Linked DNA regions of Homo sapiens: region 1 is linked to region 2. Evidence: promoter capture Hi-C in 16 types of primary human blood cells and fetal thymus (Javierre and others, 2016). All regions are on one chromosome and are shown on one strand. The core of a region is centred on a gene start or on the middle of the fragment in contact, and the rest is flanking DNA. Distances in the headings are between cores, read along the strand shown.

Region 1 (4,409 bases), core at 1,629-4,128, about 20 Mb after region 2:
CCTACTCGAAGTTTTTCAGTAACAGGGTCAAGACAGGAAAAGAAAGCTCCCTGTCAAGGTCTATCCTTTGTCTAAAGGCCCTGCTTGCTTCTTTAATCAGGATTCACTGCTAAGGCCTCAAATAAATACCATCCATAAGAGAGGTAAAAAAAGACTCCCTTTTTACTTGAAATTTGCTAAGAGAGTAGATCTTAAGTATTCTCACAATATACACATGAAAGAAAGAAGGAAGGAAGGAAGATAACTATGTAAGGTGATGGATATACTAAGTAGCTTGATTGTGGTGATTATTTCACAATTTACATATACATCAAAACATCAAGTTGTACATCTTAAATATATATAGTTTTATTTGTCAATTATATCTCAGTAAGGCTAAAAAAACTTTTCAGAATTGTTTTAAATTTTTTAAACGCACGCATAAACTTTTTGTTTTGCTTTCTAAAGAAAACTATATAAATGTTCTAATGAGCAAAGTAGTTGGAGAACATGGGAATGTTTTAAATGGCAACACGAAAGTTTTCTCCTGAAGTTTTTAAGAAAATAGTAAACCGGGTAATTGTGTAGTCGTATTGTAAGCACACTGATATCATATACACTCCAGTACCCAAAAAAATGTGCAAAGATAAAATTTAAATTCTGGAACTTATGTTTACTGTACGTGTAAATAAGTTATGAAGCATTAAATATACCATTTTCAGAATATTTACTCAGAAATGAGGAGCCCACCTAGGAACGTAACAGTGCCTGGGCATGTTTCACAGCACCAAATGTTGTATAGGTCAGTTTCAAGGCATAGTCCTCATGCTCACCCATGCCAGCTGGGGTTCAAGCAGAACTAATCAATTTACACATTGAGGACCACTTTACAGAACCCAAGTCAGAGACAGTGAAGATCTTATACACACATTCTTACACACAGGGCAGCCAGTTCTGTTTACGTAAAAACCTGGCTCATTCAACTTAAAACTAGAGTAGCAGATTTTTTTAAATGGAGTCAATAAATAGACTTTAGAAAATTCAACTGAACCCACTCAGGTTATACGCAAAATTATATGTACATATATATTTTTCTGGAGAGTAAGTACACAGCTTTCATCAAATTTCCATGGATAAGTTAATAAAAAAAAAAAGCAAAGAATCATGGCACTTGAATCAGTCACCATTCTTTGAGGTGGGGGAGTCTAAAAACAACTGAAACTGCCTAAATATTACCTACCTTCAGTATTACAGCTAGAATCCACCCCATTTTCACATATATAAAAAACATATATCTGTATATATTATACATAAATTATAATTTTCATACACATTTTTAATAAGTTATATGAATGCAAACTCAATCTGAGAGTACAAGGGCAGATATTTTGGTTTCGACTCTATCATCTACCCAACATAACTGCATATATAATTTGCTAATCTATAGAAAGGGGAATAATAACACCATAGCAGCAACTGCAAATTTGTGAGAAATGCCATTGTAAAAAGGGGAGGAAAAAAATAAGGTGAAACTATCTGACCAGTTTTTGCTAATAAATTAGCATACTAAATAAGTATGTATAAATCAACATACTTGCTACAGCAATTACGAACTCAGGAAGCCCTGTCTCTTGAGTGTTTACTGAAAGCTCAATAAGATGTACATGGTCACCTTCAGGCAATATAAGGAAAGTAGGGGGCTGGTTAGGGAACGGGGGGGGGTGGATCAAAATGAAATCTACACCAATTTTACATTTCTATTCTCTGTATTTTATATACGTGTCCTTCATTCACATCAGACCTCACGCTTCTGAAAATTGAAGAGTCTAAAACAGGTCAAAGTACTGACTCTGAAACCCCTAGGATTCAAATATATTTATTTGTCATAATTAAGCAGTAATATTATTTTGTATGCATATTCCATGCCTTTTACATCTATTATTTCCTTCTCATCTACTTATACTTATTGCTTCTACTAGTAAAAATCAGTTGAATCAGCTCTTGAATCTTATTTCAGAGGCAAGATGTACATGAAGTGCTAAGAGTGTTTACCATTTTCCCCTTAAGTCTCTTCTTGCTAGTGTTAGGCATATTTCTTGCCTTTCCTGCCCAATATTCATTTATTACTTTAGTCATTAAATATGTATTGGGGGACTATGAAGACGGGGTAGGACTCTAAATGTGACTCTCGGGCCTTAACCTTAAGAGGCCACACAACAGTGTTCAGTAATAGAACTAGGTTGTTTTGCAAAGTTTTGCTCTTCTGGCTGCAGCGTCACTAATTAAAACAATGAAGACATAGTTTGGTTAACTTCTCATTTATGGCATCAATCCATGCACGAGGCAAAAGGGCAAACCCTTCGGTTTGGGTCACAGCCCTGCAAAGAGCATCTACCCAGTTCGCCAATCTATCAGCAGCGCAGGCCGGTGGGCGGGGCTTGTGGAAGCCCAGGGAAGGAAAGGAACGGTGGGAGGAGATCTGGGAATGCCGAGTCGAGCCTGCGACTAGAAGTGACACAGAGACGGGAAACCCAAGCCACTGCCGACTGGGGAATATACCCCCTTTACTTCCTCCTCAAGGGGCTCGGGGGGCGGGGCGGAGGTACCTAGTTTCTGCCCCAGGTAGGTGAGGCTGTGATAGACCTTCTCGGCCGCGGCCAGGTGCGCCAAGGCCGCCAGCAGCGACAGCCAGCTGCCCCCCGCGCTCTTGTTGGCCTCTCGTTCCTTCTCCACATTGTCCTTAGCCTTGTCGTAAGAGAAGATACCCAGGTGAGAGAAGAACGTCTCCAGCACCGCCTGTTCCACCGGGACCGGGGCGGCCAGCGGGATAGACTCCCCCATGCGAGCTGCGCCCCAGCTCGACCCACGTGGCTCTCCTCGGCCTCGCACTTCCGGGTTCTGAGGGAACGGGCTTGCGCACAAGCGTGCGTGCGCGTGACCGCCTCCACCGGCGGACTCGTGAGCGCGCCGCTGCCGGGACCGCTCCTGGGCCTTAGAGAAGACGCGGATAAGGGCCAAGGAAAGAGGGAGGTAGCGGTTGCTGAGCTCCTTCGGCGCTTCGGCTCCTGTAGCTCTGACTATTCGGACCGTCAAGGTAGAATAGGAGGCGGCCAGTTCCCCGCTCTAAGAAGTTGCCTGCGCTCTGAGGTGAGCTGACAGGCCCCTCTCTGTGTGGTTCGTCAGCGCTGGTGACGTCATGCAAACGTGACGTCAGCCCTGGCCAGAACATCTGGCCTGGGCTCTCCAGGCACCTCGCTGGGCCGGCTGGGAGATGGGGAAGTGCCTGGAGTTGTGCCCACACTCACAGCAGGGACCCTAGTCAGCCCTGACACCTTCTACACCAACTCATGGAAGTGATTTGCTGAGATTAGAAGACTGACGGGTAAAGGTTGATCTCCTTCCCATTGCCTAGTTTTCATCACATCACACACCACCGGTTAACTCTCACCTGTATCCCGTTCTAGTTCTCCCGGGTCTGTGTTAGCCCTGCAACTAATAAGTAGAGCCCCTGGCCCAAACTGCATTAACCTTCCTTAAAAAGTTATCTTTTTTTTTTCTTTTTTTTTGAGACGGAGTCTCGCTCTGTCGCCCAGACTGGAGTGCAGTGGTGAGATCTCGGCCCACTGCAGCCTCCACCTCCCGAGTTCAAACGATTTTCCTGCCTCAACCTCCCTAGTAGCTGGGATTACAGGCCAGCGCCACCACACCTGGCTAATTTTCGTATTTTTAATAGAAACAGGGTTTCACCATGTTAGCCAGGCTGGTCTCAAACTCCTGGCTCAAGCAATCTTCCCACCTCAGCCTCCCAAAGTTTTGGGATTACAGGTGTGAGCCACCACCCCTGGCCAGAATGAAGAATACATTAATGTAAATTGTGCACGTTGTCATTTAGAATAATTACAAGTTCCTTTGGCATTTAAGAAACCCCATGAACCCGGCTCATACTTGTATGTCCACTACTTTGAAACACTACCCACTACTCAATAGTTTTTTCCTTTCTTCTTTGTGCATACTTATTTTATGCTTCTTAGTCACACTATTTAATCGCATATATTTACATATCTCTTTCCCCAAGTGGTGAGATCCCTAGGGTACAGTAGGGTTCACTTACAGTTATAATCTTTTCATATTGGACGGCGCAGCCATGTTTGTTGAACAAATGAGAGAATTGCCTATTTTCGTTTTTTCTCAAACTAGAGCTGTTCTGCCATCATCACTACCTTTTAAAGGAAATCCCACTAATCTAATTTTAATGAATAGGTATTGTGCACCTGTTCCCTATACTCAAGAATGTAATTGGATAAGATCAACCCTGTTAACAATGATACAAGGCAGTTTTTTTTTTTTTTGGTTGTTTTATTTTGTTTTGTTTTTGGACAGGGTCTCACTCTTTCCCCCAGGCTGGAGTTTTCCCCAGGCTGGAGTGCAGT
Region 2 (4,389 bases), core at 1,054-3,553:
TATTCTCAGAACTTTCCCAAAACAAGAAAGGGAAATGATCATTTCTGTGGCAAAGGTTGCAATCAAATGGAGAAAATGGGAGTTTGATATCCTTTGTTTATATTTAAAAACAAACTTAATTGAATAATTCACAAGTAACTATTTTTTTTTTTTGATAATCACCTGTTTAGTGATTTCCATTCCAGAGATGGAAGCACTGACATTAGAAATGGACTGTGGTGCAGAAACTGAGACACAAAAAGTAAAAGAGGAAGAAGTCACATCAAAAAACATCTTTCTGTTTCCCTGATAGTCACATAATTCAGAATGAAATTAGGGGCCCATAGGGACCTGCACAAAATATGAGGAATCCAAGTTACCGTAAGATTTGAACTTGCTTCATATTAATTAATAGTTCAAATCACTGACAACACACAGTAAGTTTAAAAATACAACAGCCACTAATCCAGGAACAGAAAATATTTTAAAATATTTAACTAACCATTTTCAATAGATATTTTCAGAAGTCTGTACTTTCCATTTCTGGCTCTGGCAAAGATCTCTTTAACATCTTCACTTGCTGTGGAAAAAGATAAAGAAAGTAAACTTTTTATACTTACATATAAATACTTTCCTATCTATATTGGAAAAGTTAATTAGAATACAAAGAAAAAATCTGGAGCATGTAGCATCCTTATTATCAGTATTATAAAACTTTACCGCATAAAATAACGAAGACTGTATACAATTAAGAAATATAAATATTAGCATTTTAAAAGTATGTTAATAATTCTAATCTGTTTTAGCTACATAATTCTGTGCAGAAATAACACTGGGGTGAATATACTGAAGTTACTCAAACCCAATAATGAGCAAATTACAATTTTGAAAAACTTTTCTTGCTCTTTTGAAAAATATTGAAAACCTGCTTTCATTCTCTAATTCAGTTTCAAGCTTATGACAGACACTCCTTCATCAATTCACTTTCTGTATTTTCCCGTTAAAAACAACAGTATATATCAAATATCCTAACTTGTTTAAAGAAAAAGACAATAAAATGCATTCAGTCTTAACTCTGGTTATATTTTTCTAACTTGCATTTCTCAAAAGCTAGATTAAACTCATTGAATAAATATGTATTTAATAACTAACCCTTGTGTTCCTATTAAAGCTTCAATTTCGTTCTAATTTCGTTCCTGTGTTGTCTATTAGCAGCAAGAACCACTATGTAAGTAGGTAGTGCTTGCTATAAGGCTCAAGCATGAGAGTCAATAACTACATATTTATATATCGAAATTAATGCGGATAAATAAAACAAAGTTTTCAGATTTGAGACTATTTTGCTTCTGCGTGCGTGCAGGGGGATGTGTGCGGTGGTGTCAAAAATCTTTACGAATAAAACATACAATTAAGTGTTCATCTGGGAGAAAGACTCGCTATTAACAGTAAGAGCTTGAGTTTACACTAGAACTCGTTAAGTGATCGCGAGTAACCCGGGGATATATTATTTGACTCTTGATGAGGTGAGTACCTGCAGGCTGCCCAATTTCAAACCAGGAAATAATGGAGGTCAGATATAACTGCATATTGAACTGTCTGCACGCATTACATGCAACCATACAGATCAGTTTCCCTTGGGGAGTATCTAGGAAAAAGATCAAAACACACGCTTACACTCGAGATTTCTCAGAACATAACTCTCATTTTCCTATTTGGAGAGAAAATGCGGGAGAGTTTTGGGAAGCACCCCTACTGATGTGAGAAAGATTCTGGCATGGTTCTTTTTGTAATCAAAGTCCTGTAATATTCTCCTTTGGACCATGAAAAAGAAAACTCGCCTGGTTCTCGACAGCGTACTGAAGCCCCAGTCGCCTCCACTGTCCCAGCTCTTCCCTACGTGACCAAAAGGGGGAAAGTTGGGCGACTGTCGGGGACGGTGGAAGGCACGCCCCCTTCAACCAGGCCGCCTCGAAAGCCAATTTCCTTCGCTCCCCCGAATTTCGGATCAATCTGCAACGTGACGGCAGCAGGGACCGGGCTGGAGGAGGACGCAGGCCGGCAGCGCCCGGGAAGCAGGAGCGCGGAGAGGCGCCGAGGCCCGGCTCGCCCCGCGAGACCGACTTCCGGAGCTCCCGGCCCGACTCCAGCCCTGCCGGTCCTGCAGCCCTCCCGGCTCTCCCGGCTCTCCCGGAAGCCCCTTCCCTGCGAGTCGCGCCGGGCGCTGTTACCTTGGATGCCGGTCTGGTGGGACATGGCGGCGGCCGCTAGCTCCCGGCTCCGGCGCTGAGTGCAGCCAGCGGCCCCGGCCGGCGGCCCCAGGAAGTGGCTGCTCCTCCGCCGGCCCCGGCGCGTCATCCGCCCGCGACCCGCGGCCGCCCCGCCCCGTGAGGTTGACTGAGTGCCCGAGCGTCCCCGCCGCCCCGCCGCCCTTCCTGGCCGCCGGGCTGCGGTCCAGCCCCCGGCCTCGCTATCCTAGTTCTCTGCTTGGGGTCCTGCTTCTGCTCTTGCCGCCGCCTCTCCCGCTTCTTCCGGGGGGGACATGCCGCAGAATCTAGACTGCTCAGTGCTCCGACGTCTGCTCTCTGACAACCCCGCCGACGCCGCCATTCGCTGCCTCAGCAAAGGGGTGCTCAAAAACGGAAGTGATCATTTTACCAAATAGGCATTTTCCAGCTTAAAAAAGATGTGCACATTATTTTTCTTGGTTTACTCTTCCTATAATCGATACCGTTTAGTGTAGAAAAGCCTTCTCCTTGCTCCATTGTTTTGAAAGAATTAATATAGACTGCCTCTCATCAAATTTTTCCACGATTTTAAATTAAGTTAATCTCAGACTGTTAACTTTTCTTTTCAGCTGGACACATTTAGAGACTCAGTGTATCTTTCTCTTCACTCCGGAAAGAGACAGCCACTAAGAGATTAGCTGATTTGAGTATCCCTCTGTGGTCGATTATACCATTGCAAATCCTGCTCTGCTTTAGGTTGGCAGTTTATTATTTAATCCAGTAATTATTCAAAATTCACTTGGACAGATTTGTAAGGTAGCAGCAGATATTACTTAAAAATCTTTTCCTTTCCTGCTTTTACAAACATGTAGTTCCTTCCTGAAAGGTAATGTTAGTTTTGTGGGGGGTTTGGTTTTTTTTTGGTACTGCTTCTCTACTGCTACTAGGTGGGAAGCTAGTTCTTATTTTTAGGGCCTTGAAGTGACACATACACAAAATTATAATCTGCTAATGAAGAAATAATTTATTCAGGTCAATAATATAAGTGCAAGTTAATCACTGTTCCAGTACTATACGATGTATTTTTCATGAGTGATGAACAGGCCTGCAATTGTTTTTCTTTACAAGAATCACAGCAAACAAGGTTATGTTCTATTGCCTGTTATCTGAGCTCTGTTTTTCAGACATATTCTCATATTCAGGAATAAACTAAATCTGAGTTTTATGACTTGTATGGATTTAAGAAATGTAGGGAGGAGTTTCATTCTAATCAAATTCTTCCTGACACAATGGTTCACCCTGATTTACCAGTTTTTGACTACATTGCTGAGCAGAGAGAAAATTGCAGAGTTGACTTGCAGTATTTTGACTGATTCATGTCCTAGTGCTTCGGGGAAATTGCTTAAGGAAGTTGGCGTTGCTCAAAAGTATAGTTGAGCAAAATATAATCCTTCCATATTCGTGCTTGGGAAAGGCCACTGTATTCTCAGTCCTGAAGAAGAGGAATGTCTAGTTAGGTTGGGACCACCCTGACAGCCACCAGAAAGTGCTTATTTACTGCCAGTACAATAGTTTGACTTAAAAGCTGCAAGCGTCTTGGGTACCTTGCTCTGCTCTAGCCACAAATATTTTCCCACTTTTCTTCATCTATTGTGTCTCCATTTAGTGAACATTTGCCAGAGCTGTCATGAGAATAATACCTTAGATTTGTATGGTAGTTTACAGTTTACAAATAATATATAATAGACTTATTTTGAGTACCAACATCCTGTGTGACGAGCTGAAAAAAATAGCAGGTTTTGTTTTTTAACTTTAAGAGGTTTGGAAATTGAACCACAGAGTTGGGAAGTCAGCAGGTTTCAAGGCTAAGACAAGTGTCTGTAAGAAACAAACCATTTGAAAACAATGTATGCAGATAAGAGGGTTTATTATAAGGATATTGGAGGATCTTATAGATCTTGACAACTTGGTTGTCACCTCTGCTTTTCTCTTCTTTTTCTCCAAATAAGATCTCTCTGCTTGTGCAGTCAAAATGGCTGAATATGGCTACCCTACACTTTCCAAATTGACAGGGTTGTAGCTGCATGCAGAGATTACATAGCTCTTCTAAGTCCAAGTTTAAAGTTCCTAAGAGAAAGCACGTGAATGACCCTGCTTGGCTTGTGTCAAATCATTCTTGGCCAAG

Evidence for each region. The method cuts DNA at HindIII sites, captures the fragments that hold promoters and counts their contacts. A CHiCAGO score of 5 or more calls a contact.
Region 1: a contact is called between the fragment with the promoter of KICS2 here and the fragment with the promoter of TWF1 in region 2, in 1 of 17 cell types (total B cells). The highest score is 7.2, in total B cells.

Annotation. Positions count from the first base shown.
Region 1 is chr12:64,219,418-64,223,826 of GRCh38, forward strand. It overlaps KICS2 (KICSTOR subunit 2), which reads right to left and starts at 2,879. Exons shown (of 3, transcript NM_152440.5): 1 at 2,586-2,879. The coding sequence starts at 2,820. It overlaps LOC124902952 (a long non-coding RNA gene), which reads left to right and starts at 2,932. Exons shown (of 2, transcript XR_007063347.1): 1 at 2,932-3,126. RefSeq lists enhancers at 2,403-2,522, 2,593-2,652, 2,687-3,281, 2,763-2,852, 3,003-3,192 and 1 more. The HindIII fragment of the contact is 7,597 bases long and covers 1-4,409 here.
Region 2 is chr12:43,804,014-43,808,402 of GRCh38, forward strand. TWF1 (twinfilin actin binding protein 1) reads right to left here and starts at 2,304. Exons shown (of 9, transcript NM_002822.5): 1 at 2,208-2,304; 2 at 482-559. The coding sequence starts at 2,232. It also overlaps a transcript of TMEM117 not described here. RefSeq lists a silencer at 2,000-2,479. The HindIII fragment of the contact is 5,668 bases long and covers 1,149-4,389 here.